2 separate regions of the Homo sapiens genome follow, and region 2 is linked to region 1. The links are contacts of gene promoters, found by promoter capture Hi-C in blood cells and fetal thymus (Javierre and others, 2016). All regions are on one chromosome and are shown on one strand. The core of a region is centred on a gene start or on the middle of the fragment in contact, and the rest is flanking DNA. Distances in the headings are between cores, read along the strand shown. Region 1 holds the start of FAM89A (family with sequence similarity 89 member A). Region 2 has its middle 7.4 kb from the start of TRIM67.

Region 1 (5,794 bases), core at 2,952-5,451:
AATGGAGGGAAAAAACAAAACAGAGGAGGAGGGGAAGAGAATACCTCAGTGGACTTCCTGGATTCCCCATAAGCCCTAGTTCTAGCCTGTCTCTGTATACATCCAGTCTATAAGATTGTCCTTTTGAAAAAGCTAGTTCAAACTAAGTTTCTATTACTAATATAGAGTCTTTGGTCATGAAAAATGAAAACTAGTCTAAACTAAAGCAATTCTTTTTCTGTAAAGATGCCCACATCTACCAGGTGTGATAAGCCCCTTAACATCTAGATATTTCCTATTCACCCTTAAACCATCCACAGTACTTGCTATCTAACATACACCCAGTAATCATCTCTTAAACGTGATCTAAAGATATTCTCTGATGTAAAAATCATCATCATCAACTTTTTCAAAAGGACTTTTTTGGTCTGTAGAGCAATAACTATCTGTGTGACCCTTGAAGCTTTCCAAGTGGGCCCTTCTGGGGAGGGGACGAGGACTTACGAGTAGTGCAGAATTTCACAGGGGTTACTAGAACAGGAAGTGTTGAAACGTGGAGCTGAAACCACAACTCTCCAAGCAGAGGAGGGCATCAGCAGTCATGAGACAGACCCTTCTCAGCCCTGGGCTCCAGCTCTCCCAGCCTCCACCCTCGGCATCCGAATGGCCTCTCCTCCCATTGAGATGGTATTACTCCCTCAGCTCCAACCATCTCTTCTACTGGCTATCTCCAGACCAAAACCTCTCTTCCAGCTTCCAGCTCCACATTCTGAAATGTTTAACATGCTCTTCAGCTGATGCGATGACAAATTACCTTCCTCCCTAAAGCAGCTACTCCTCCTGACTCCCCAAGTGCCATAATGAACCCCACTTTACCAGTGATTGATTATTAAGCTTCAAAACCTTGCTAACTGCCATACAGTGGTATACTACACACTCACTGAAGTCATTATAATATATCTTGACTGGGAAAATAATTGCAATGTGCAGCCCAAAAAGCAAACCAAAATATATGTGATCAATGTGTTGTATATATGTATGTGTGTGTGTGTGAGAGTGCATGCATGTGCACAGACAGCAGACTGCAATGGTTAAATAGGGCTTTGGAGCCAAAGAGACCTGGTAGGGTCTGTGACCTTATGGGAGTTCAACTCTCAGCATCCAATTCTTTAATATAAAACAGACTTTGAGTATCTATCTCATGGAGAATTTATACCATTAAATAAGATACTATATAGAAAGCACTTACATTGCACCTAACAGAAGATATCCCAAAATACTAAAAGTGATTATTTCTAGGTGCTGGCACTGTAATTTTTAATTTTTTGCTTGGCTACATTTTCCATGAAAAAGCTTAAGTTATCTTTGATCCCCTTTTCATCATCTTCCTTGACTCAGTAATTCCTCCAGCTTCGGCTTCAGAAAAGTGTCTCCCACATGAGTCTTGTTTCACATTAGCAAGCCCCCTACCCTGCTGGGGACTCCATCACCTCTCCCATGAACACCTCTCATCTTCCTGTTGAGCCTCCAAAGTCCAGCTCTCCCTTCTGCACCCTGCTGTAGAATTCATTTCTTCAAAGTCCAACTGGGATAATACCATTCTCCTGCTGAATGCCCATCCTTGCTACTCAGGCTTCTCAGAGTCCACTCGGTCCACCTGCCCAGGCCCTTCTTGCTCACATTTCAAACTGGCGCACTCCCAGTTCCAGCTCCGCAGCTACCTTCCTGGTGCCTCTTTCCCTTGTCGAAATTCTGTCGCCTTCTGAGGTCTTCCACACCACCCTGCTCCCTGTCCCTATTAGAAGTTGCCCCTCTTTCTATGCTTGCTTTAAAAAAAAAAATTTCTTTAAGGCATTTATCACATTCTACCATGACATCTAGTTATGTCCCCTGCCACAGATTTGACGTCAGGCCTTCAATTTAAACAGATCAACACAAACTATTTTGCAGATATCTCAGGAATGAACTCCCAGTTCTTGTTTTGCAAGGCCTCCCCAGAGGGAGTCTCAGCTTGAGTTGTCCACTCAGACCCCATGGCCCCAAGTCAGTAAATCAATTAAAAAGCCGAAAGATTCTCTGGGCAACTTTAAAGGCCTTGTGACATTTCTTGAAAGGAACTTGTCAAAACCTGCAGCCATATCTTATCTTTATCTCAGCTAAATACCAGGCAGACCAAAGATGGCTGTTTATTTTTCTTGTGCTTCAAATAGGCTTACAGAGAGCTCTGGTCCAAGGCGTAATTATACGGATGTGGTTGTGCTTCAGTCACACCAGGAGGGACCTGGAAAAATACTTCTGGGAATGGCACGTTGACTCCCAAGCCACCATAGCAAGACTCCAGAGCATGTTTATAAACCACAGCTTCACAACAGGAGCGGCCCCGAGGTTTTTCTATCTCTTGCTCAAGTATGGAATTTAAATAATCAAAGATGATCTTCCTACTTCACCCCCGTGGTTCTGCTATGTCCAAGTTCAGACTGTAAACACACTACGTGTAGATTTATCTAATTAAAATGCAGTTCACCAGCTGTGTGATGCTTATGTCAATGAATGTTTTTTAATAAATTAAAAACGGTTGGCTTGGAATTTAAGTGGTTCTGTAAGAAGCTTAGAAAATCTTTTCAGTGAGAATTGGAAATCACTTCAATGCCAGCTACAGAGTAGGAAGACAATATCTCTTTGATTAAAAGTGTTAAGGCTGCTTTCTGAATTCAATTAAGTCTTAGTTTTCAGAACAGATAATGCTCCTGAAAAAAAAGTATGCATACCCTGAATTTTTCTAAACAATATCTTAAATGCACTAGATACATATTTAAAAGATTCCTATAACAATTTATTTTTTGGCAAATTTAGTTTTGGGAAAAGGCAGCTTTCCTAATGTTAGATTTCTTAACAATTTACCTATAGGGAAAGGAGACAACCTGGACGAGGTGAATGGAAAGGGAGGCTTTTAAAACGAGGGGATTGGGAGGAGGTGATGGGGGCCAGTAAGATGGTAGAAAAGAGGAAAAGTTTTTGATTTCTTCTTGCCTGGCCTACGCCTGGCCGAGAAAGCTGGGGAAAGACTCGCTGTTGCCTAAATCCCTGCCCTTGTCCTACTTTTAGCGTCACCCTAAATCATGTGTGTTCTGGTCCACAAACAGCTAATGTACTTCCCAAGCACAGAGAAACACTGAGCCCATGGTATGGAGCTTAGACACAAGGCGAAGAACTCACATGGACAGCACCCAGACCGGGAGGACAGCCACCTCCCACCTTTCTCAAGAGGGTTTGGGCAATCAGCTTCGCGGGGCTGAGGGACCCGGCCGCCTCCCTCGCCCGGGGTGCGCGTCTGCTTTCGCAGCCATCTGTGCGCCGGGGCCATCCCGCGGTAATCGGATCACGGACGCGCGGCCTGGGGCGCCGGAAAGGGGGCCGGGCTGTTCCAATCTGCTGTCTACACTGGCGGCGGACAAAAGTTGTCCTCTTCGTGGTAGGAAAACGCAATCGCGTTAATCCGTTGGGCCGCTGTGAAAGCCTTTCCCCCACCGGGAAGGTCTGTTTCACTCGGGGAGAGGTGACAAGGCCGCCCCCGCCCCCAGGCCAGGCACGAACCCCGCACAGCGCTTCCGGGCGCCCAGGTTTCCGAGCCAGCGGGGCCGGACTGAGGGCGCCGGGCATAAGAAAGCCGCCCTCTGCGCGCGGGGCTCTCCCGCGGGGGTTCCAATCGTGGGCACGGAGCACGCGAGAAAAATGGGGGTCGTTGGGAGGACGGCGCCGGCGCCTGGGGCGGAGGAGCCCGAAAGGGCGGGTGGGCGCGGGGACTTCCGGACAGAGCGCGGTCCCCGCGAACTTTCCCGGGACGGCGAGCCCGGCCGGGAAGAGCCCCAGCTCGCGGAGCCCCACTCACCATCTCTTTGCGGAGCAGCGCCAGAGCGGCGTCCAGGTTGGGAGGCTTGGCGGGCAGCGCTGCCGCCCGGGCCCCGCCGCCGCCCGGGCCCCCGCGGCTCAGCTCGTCCTGGATGCGCGACTTCTGCGCGTACAGCCGCTCCAGGTGCCGCCAGCCCCCAGACGCGCCGCCGCCCGACGCCGAGTGCAGCAGCCCGCTCAAGCTCTTTGGCAGCGGGGGCAGCCCGTCCACCCGCAGCCCCCGGACCGCGCCGTTGCCCGCGGCCCCGGGCGCCGCCCGGGCCCCACTCATCGCGCCGCGGCCCGGCCACGCGCCTGCCCCGCTGCAGCGAACCAAGGCTTTCCCCCGGCCCGCCCCCTTCCCGGCGGTGCCCCGCCCACTTCCCCTCCCGCGCCACGCCCCCCCGGCCCCGCCCCCTCTCCTCGAGGCCCCTGCGCGGGCCCCGGGTCCGGGTGGCGTCCGCGTCCAGCAGCCGGGCTCGCCTCCACCCGGGTCTCCTCCTCCCTCGCGCCCCTCCAGCGCCCTAATTCATCTCCAACTCCGCGTGACTACCCTCTAACCCCCCGACTCACCTCCAGCCCCGTCACGAACCCTTCTGTGCCACTCCCTAGCTCCGAACCTACTAAGCCCCCCGCGACCCGCAGCTTCCCGGTTCACCCCCATCTCTGTCCCCACCTCCTCTGAACCACCTCCCAGCTTCCCGGCTCACCCCTAGCTCCGAACCCTCTCACCCGCGCCACCCCGAACCCCAGCTTCCCGGCTCACCCGCATCTCTGTCCCCACCTCCTCTGTGCCAACCCCCAGCTTCCCGGCTCACCCCCAGTTCCGCCCCCACGCCCTCTGTGCCACCCTCAGCTCACTGGCTCACCCTCAGCTCCGAACCCACTCACCCCCCACCCCAGGCTTCCGGATCACCCCCATCTCTGCTCCCACCTCCTCTGTGCCACCCCCAGTTCACTGGCTCGCCCCCAGCCCCGTCTCCACTCCCTCTGTCCCACCCCTCAACGCCCGCTCACCTCCAACCCGGCTCCAGACTTCCCCCTTACCTGCCAGCGCTCCTCAGCTCCTTGCCTCACCGATCCCTGCCCTGCCCAGGGGGCGGCCCAGCTTCAGATCCCACGAAGCAGGCCGTTGCAGGGGGTGGGGGTACCGAGGCTCTGGCTCACAACCGGCAGGACGTCGAGGGCAGGAGGCCTGGCTCTGGTCCCAGGACCCCCGGCCCTCCCCGAGGGCGGAATCCAGCCCGCCTCCTGCTGCCTCCCACTCGCCGCGGGGGGCGGCTGGGGGCCCCAGACCCGGGCAGGTCGCTCCTTGCCGCCGGGCGCGCTGGCCTTCTCAGCACGGCCTTGTCCAGCAGTACCCGCAGCAGTCAGCAAGAACGCCAGACCCACTTTTGAAACTTCAAAACACTAGTAAACATGCCTTTCATTCTGGCCATAAACACAAGAGTAACTCTAAGTGGAAATGTCAGGAAACCAGAGAAAGGGATTAAATCTCGGAAATTATCCATCAGCTCAGGCAAAAATAAACACGACGCACACCTCAGAGGAAAAGAGAAGAGAGAGAGAGACTCTGCCCCTCCCAGGAAAAGTAAAAATGACAGGCAGTTATAACCAGATTAGAGATAGAAAAGATCAAGAAGTAAACGCTACAGCCCAACCGCAGATTAAAAACTAATGCAGTGTATAGATTGGATAACTTTAATGCCCATTCATTATTGGCTTTAATTATAAAGGGATTTAATTTTCTAGCTACATTCAAGGGGATCAAAATTATAAAGTGTTCTGAGCACTTCAGACACCCAACATAAAAGAGCCCTGCACTTTGGGTTGTTTTATACCCTTTACCACCTCCTAGAGCCCACCCCAGAAGCAGTGTCTTTGAAATTGGCACAATATTCTCCCTGGACGGTTGCAAGTGGGTGAG
Region 2 (5,723 bases), core at 2,820-5,319, 120 kb after region 1:
CTTATAGTTTGCATTCTCCAAAGTGGCAGTTTGAGCTGTACACAGGCCCCTGCCCCTTTGAGCCCTGGATGGAGCTGGAGTGGCAGGGAGGAGGGAAGCAGTGTCCTCAGGCTTCTTAGAGAAGCAGGGCCCTGAGTCTGGCCCATGAAATCATTCTTCCCTTACAGGCCTCTGGGCCTGGGAGGGGCTTCCCATTAGATCTCTGAAATGCCTTCCAGGCTTTTTTCCCATTGTCTTGGATATTAACACTTGGCTCCTTTTTAGTTATGCAAATATTTCTAAAAAGTGTTTGTTCCATGGCCTGCCTGTATTCCCCTCCCCAGAAAAGTCTTTTCTTTCTTTGCCACGTGGCTAAGCTACAAATTTTCCAAACTTTTATGCTCTGCTTCCTGTTTAAATATAAATTCCAACTTTAAGTCATTTCTTTGCTCCCACGTCTGAGCCTAAGCTATTAGAAGCAGCCAGGCAAACTCTTGAATGCTTTGCTGCTTAGCAATTTCTTCCACCAGTTACCCTAAATCATCACTCTGAAGCTCAACCTTCCACAGGTCCCTAGGGCATAAACATAATGCAGCCAAGCTCTTTGCTAAGGCATAACAAGGGGGGCCTTTACCCCAGTTCCCAATAAGTTCCTCATTTCCATCTGAGACCTCATTGACCTGGACTTCACTGTCGATATCACTACCGGCATTTTGGTTACAACTAGTTAATTAGTCTGTAGGAAATTCCAAGCTTTTCTTATCTGCCTGTCTTCTTCTGAGCCCTCCAAACTCTTCCAACCTCTGCCTGCTATCCAGTTCCAAAGTTGCTTCCACATTTTTATGTATGTTTATAGCATTGTCCCACTCCTCAGTACCAATTTTCTGTATCGGGTCATTCTAGCATTGTTATAAAGAAATACTTGAGACTGGGTTATTTATAAATAAAAGAGGTTTAGTTAGCTCATAGTTCTGCAGGCTTTATAGGAGGCATGGTGCTGGCATCTGCTTGGCTTCTGGTGAAGCCTCAGTGAGCTTTGAATCATGGCAGAAGGTGAAGTGGGAGCAGGCATATCACAAGGCAAAATCAGGAGCAAGCACATGTGCTCATGTGTGAGAGAAAGAGAGAGAGAGGGAAAGAGAAAGAAAGAGAGATAGAGGGAAAGAGAAAGAGAGAGGGTGTGTGTGGGGAAAGGGGAGGTGCGACACACTCTTAAATGACCAGATCTTGTGAGAACTCATGATCACAAAGACAGCACCAAGCCATGAGGAATCTGTCCCCATGATCCAGATACCACCCCCAGGCCTCACCTCCAGCAATGGGGATTACAATTCAACATGAGATTTGGGCTGGGACAATTATCTAAACTATATCAATGTGTCTGTAGTTCATTCTTTTATTGTGGAGTAATATTTCATTGTATTATTATAATTTGTTTATTCACCAGTTGATGTATACTTGAATTATTTCCAATTGTTGGCAATTATAAATAAATACTCTGAGCATTTACATAAAAGTCTTTGGTGTGGATATCTAAGTAAATATGTAACTGTGAAATTGCTGGATTCTATGATGTTTGTGTTGAACTTATGAGAAACTGTCAAACTGTTTTCCAAAGTGACTGTTCCAATTTGCATTCCCATCAGAAAATTTTCTGTCTCACCAATTAATGGCCCAACACACTTGAGCAGTTATTCTTTTCCATCTCTTACATTCTCATTTATAAAGTGAGATTATCATAATCCCACTTTACAGGTCTGTTGTGATGATTAAATAATGAAAGATACAAATCAAGCACGAATCTCATCCCACAAACTTAGGGTTATAAGAACCGTAACTTTCTTATTGTCTCTACAGGTGAATTTAGCTTCTATTTCAGCCACCATTCTGCTAGATGATGGAAATATATTAACAGCCAATTGAGTGTCTGGGTGATTTCCAGGCAAACCCTCAGCCCTCCCTCCTCACCTCCCTGCAGTAAACCTCAGTTCTGGAGTGTTTTCTGTTGTGACAGCATGTGTCTGTGTAGGTGGACTAAGTATCTAGGTTCGTATCTAGGTACCTATCTAGGTTCCTATCACTGTCACTGTCATCCTCATACACACTGACTTCTGCTGAGATAGCTGTTTTTCAGTCTGGCTTCTGGGCATATGGCTCTTATAGACTCTGACTAAAAGGCTGCTGTAGGTTTGCCAATTTTCTGGGCTAGGTCTGAGACACAGAAGAAAACATTCAGGTGCTTCTGGTGCACTTGTAGGGAGTATAGGGACCCAGCTGGGCTGCCCTGGCCTGCCTGTCTGAACACGTTGTATAGCCACTTCAGGTCCTCTATGAAGCTTGTAGCTTTTCAAGACTTGACTCTCTTCTTTCTCTCTGGTTCTACTATGACAATAAGAAATTATTTTTAAAAATTGAAACTATTTTGATTAATATATCAAAATATTATCCAGTTACCTTATATAAATTATGTGCAAGTACTACTAGGTCATAATGTCTTTATCTGGCATTCTTTCACTAAAGGCTTTAAAATCAATGTTCTTAACCCTTAATCTATAGACAGCATAAATATTTAAATGTATCTCTTTGTTTCCTTTGCTTTTTTTAAAAAAAAAAGCTTGCTCTCTGTTTTTTGCAAGCTTCATTATTTCCATTATTTTGCCTCTAGCCATGATCATTGCTTTAAACATTAAGCTCCTCTAGAGCAGAGATTGTGTTTTTTCTAGATATTACAGCCATTTCCTGATAGATGGTTCTGATAGCTCTTCCATCTTCCCTTCTCAATCACAAAAGACAAGCGGCTCACTCTCTCCACTATTCTCAAATACAGCCTGACACTCCAGCCAAAACAGTCTGCTTGCAGTTCACCTATTCACAAGTATCTGTTGAGAATCAGCCATTCAACGGTAACCATGTCCTGTATTATGAGGCCAAGGGGCAGAAAATTTAAAAAGTAACAACATCTAATGTTTGTTGAGCACTATACATTGACTTTTCTAAATGTTTTACGTGTGTTATTTTATTGGGTAGTCCCAGCTCTTTAAGGTATGTACCTTTATTATCTCAGTTTTACAGATGAGAAATTCAAGTGGCTGAGAGGTGAAGCATCTTGCCAAAGTTTTCTCAGCTAGTAAGCAGTAGAGCCAGGATTCTAACCTATGTGGTCTGGCTTCCAAGCCAACACTCCCAACCGCCATGCAGAACTCAGGAGGTCTGTCAAGTTGCTACCAAACCTAAGGGCTGCTTATGTAGAAATCAGTCAAATGTGGTTGCTGGTTGCTGTTAGGAAACTGCAGTCATTGCACTTGAATAGTAATTTCCACATTATAAGTAACACTGCAGCCTAGTGAATTGAATGGTGACATGGTTCTCAGTGGTTTATAGCACGTTGCCATGTGAAAGGTGCCCTGTCTTGTGGCATGAGCATTTTTTCCCTGGTGGTAGAGCCTTACAGAGGAAATGGCTGAATAAGGCTATCAGAGTTTGAAAGCACTTTTCATGCCCTGTTCCACAACTTGTGCTCTGATCTCTCTTATACTCACCAAGTAACAAGTAACTTGTTATCCCCAGTATAGCACTCCACAGTTTACAAACCTCGAGGGTTTTTGCTCTTTGTCTTAATATGAGAGGCCGTTGGAGTTACATGCACCATCAAGTGCAATCTAACATTGATTTCCTGTTCAAGAGAATATTGAGTGGAGAGAACAAAGGCATCATGGAGCCATGGCTCTCGCTGTGGTCAGGGAGAGGAAGCAGGAGCCCAAGGAAGGGAAGCAAATGGCTCATTAGAGTGGGTGGTTAGGATGAGAGCAAACGGAGCTTAATGGACTGAAATGGTCAAGCTATGAGGAGAAAATAGCATCCGAGAATGACAAGGGCAAAACCAATAAAGAGTCAAGGTCAGAATTCAATAAAGAGAAGCTGGGGAGAAGAAATATTTCAATGTCCCAACAGAGGTGACTAAAGTGTCAAACTAAATAAGGGTGTTCCCCTAATTGTTTGAATAGGCCAATGGGTTAACCAATCTTATCCTTCTGAAGTACCCCCTCATCTCCCCAGCTAGTTTTGGAATAGAAAGAGGGTGGAAGGGTGGGGGGGTTGGGGGGGGGCGAAGAAAGAGAGAAAGAAAGGAAGAAAAATAAGGAAGGGAAATTACATTTTTCCTGAGGGTAGAAGGGAGTTTTATTCATGAATGTTGCCAAGTCTCAGAAACATGAGCTGTTGTGAGACCTCAGGAGGGGTCTTCTCTTCTTTTTCTGCTTTTCTGCTTTATTCTTCACTCTCTGTTTCTTTTTCTTTTTCTTTTTTTTTTTCTTTTTCAGGACCACAACAGTTCCTTAACATCTGTATTAGAGGCCCATCCAGATTCTTTCTCTGGTTTCCAATTCTACATTTCAGGAAGAAAAGATTCTGACTGGCTCAGCCTAGTCAGTTGCCCACCCATGAACTAAACAATTGTGCCTAGATTTGGGATCAAGTTGTATTAGCACGGCTAGTAGAAACCTACTATGTGGGTCAGGGTCCTTTCTTCATTTTCATCATCTCCCAGGCCAACCCACGTTGCTGTGAGGATTAAATTAAATAATGGGGCCAGGCACAGTGGCTCACATCTATGATCCCAGCACTTTAGGAGGTCAAGGTGGGAGGATTGCTTGAGGCCAGGAATTCAAGACCAGCCTCAGCAATGTAGTAAGACCCCATCTCTACAAAACATGTTTAAAAAAAGAAAAATTGGCTGTGTATGCTGGCATGCACCTGTAGTCCTAGCTACTCTAGAGGCTGAGACAGGAAGATCCTTTGAGCCCAAGAGTTCAAGGCTGCAGTGAGCCATAATCACAACACTGCACTCCAGCCTTGGCGATGAAGCGAGACCTTGTCTGAAATAAATAAAATAAAATATGTGAAGGGGTGTCATGAAAGTGTACAGTACTACTGCAATTCTTATAGCTGAAATATGTAACCAGAGGGAAGTGCCAAAAATTGCTTTTGTGGTAATAGTATTAGTTTTCATGCATTACAAAGATACCCTGGGTATATAAAGAATCCTCTAAATTGAAATCAATTTTCTTCATCTGGGATTTGATTCTAAACTCTTTTGCTTGCAAAAGATGCAGTGAGGCAAAAGCAGGCTTTCTAAGACCAGATCACCTGATCCGTACAGAAGATGAGTCTCGGAATTAGAAGGGGGTGGTCATCATTTGGTATTCAGAAATTAAAACAAGGTTGTTAAGCACCAATCAAGGATGTTTGAAGGGAAAAATGGCTAGATTTTAAGATTACTCAATAGAAATTGTTTTCTGGAAAAGAAGCCAATTACACACCCTGGGGAGAGTGCTTTATGTTGTTAGTGATAATTGTTCCTCATTAACTTTGCTGCAGAGACGCTTTGGTACACTATGCCTAGATGTGGATATGGTCACTTTCTTTGAGTTAAATGCAAACTACTTTAGACCAGATGGCTTCTGGTCTGTAGATTTCTATTGAATTTCCTGAATTCACCCTAAACTGTTAAAAAAAAAAACCCAAAAAACTAAAAGAAAAAATATCATAAGCTTTCATTTAAAATTTGTTTTAGAGATTCTTACACTTGAGATTACAGCATCTGATTTTAGCTGATAAAGCCTTCAATTCCATTCTGCTTCATGCTTGAAATTCGAAGCATTCTGAAAGGAATGCAGATGATTTACTTCTAACTTGCTGTGTTAGCTGGAGTAAATTATTTAACTGATTTGTGCTTTTTTTTTTTT

Evidence for each region. Contacts are between HindIII fragments. The CHiCAGO score rates a contact against its expected background, and 5 or more counts as called.
Region 2: a fragment that was not itself captured here is called in contact with the fragment with the promoter of FAM89A in region 1 in 1 of 17 cell types (erythroblasts); the score reaches 6.4 in erythroblasts.

What each region holds. Positions count from the first base shown.
Region 1 is chr1:231,036,053-231,041,846 of GRCh38, forward strand. It overlaps FAM89A (family with sequence similarity 89 member A), which reads right to left and starts at 4,202. Exons shown (of 2, transcript NM_198552.3): 1 at 3,869-4,202. The coding sequence starts at 4,159. RefSeq lists an enhancer at 2,880-3,561 and silencers at 3,224-3,303, 3,944-3,993, 4,254-4,363. The HindIII fragment of the contact is 3,223 bases long and covers 2,585-5,794 here.
Region 2 is chr1:231,151,832-231,157,554 of GRCh38, forward strand. No RefSeq gene overlaps it. Among named protein-coding and RNA genes, the nearest start is that of TRIM67, 7.4 kb to the right of the region's middle. The HindIII fragment of the contact is 2,913 bases long and covers 2,614-5,526 here.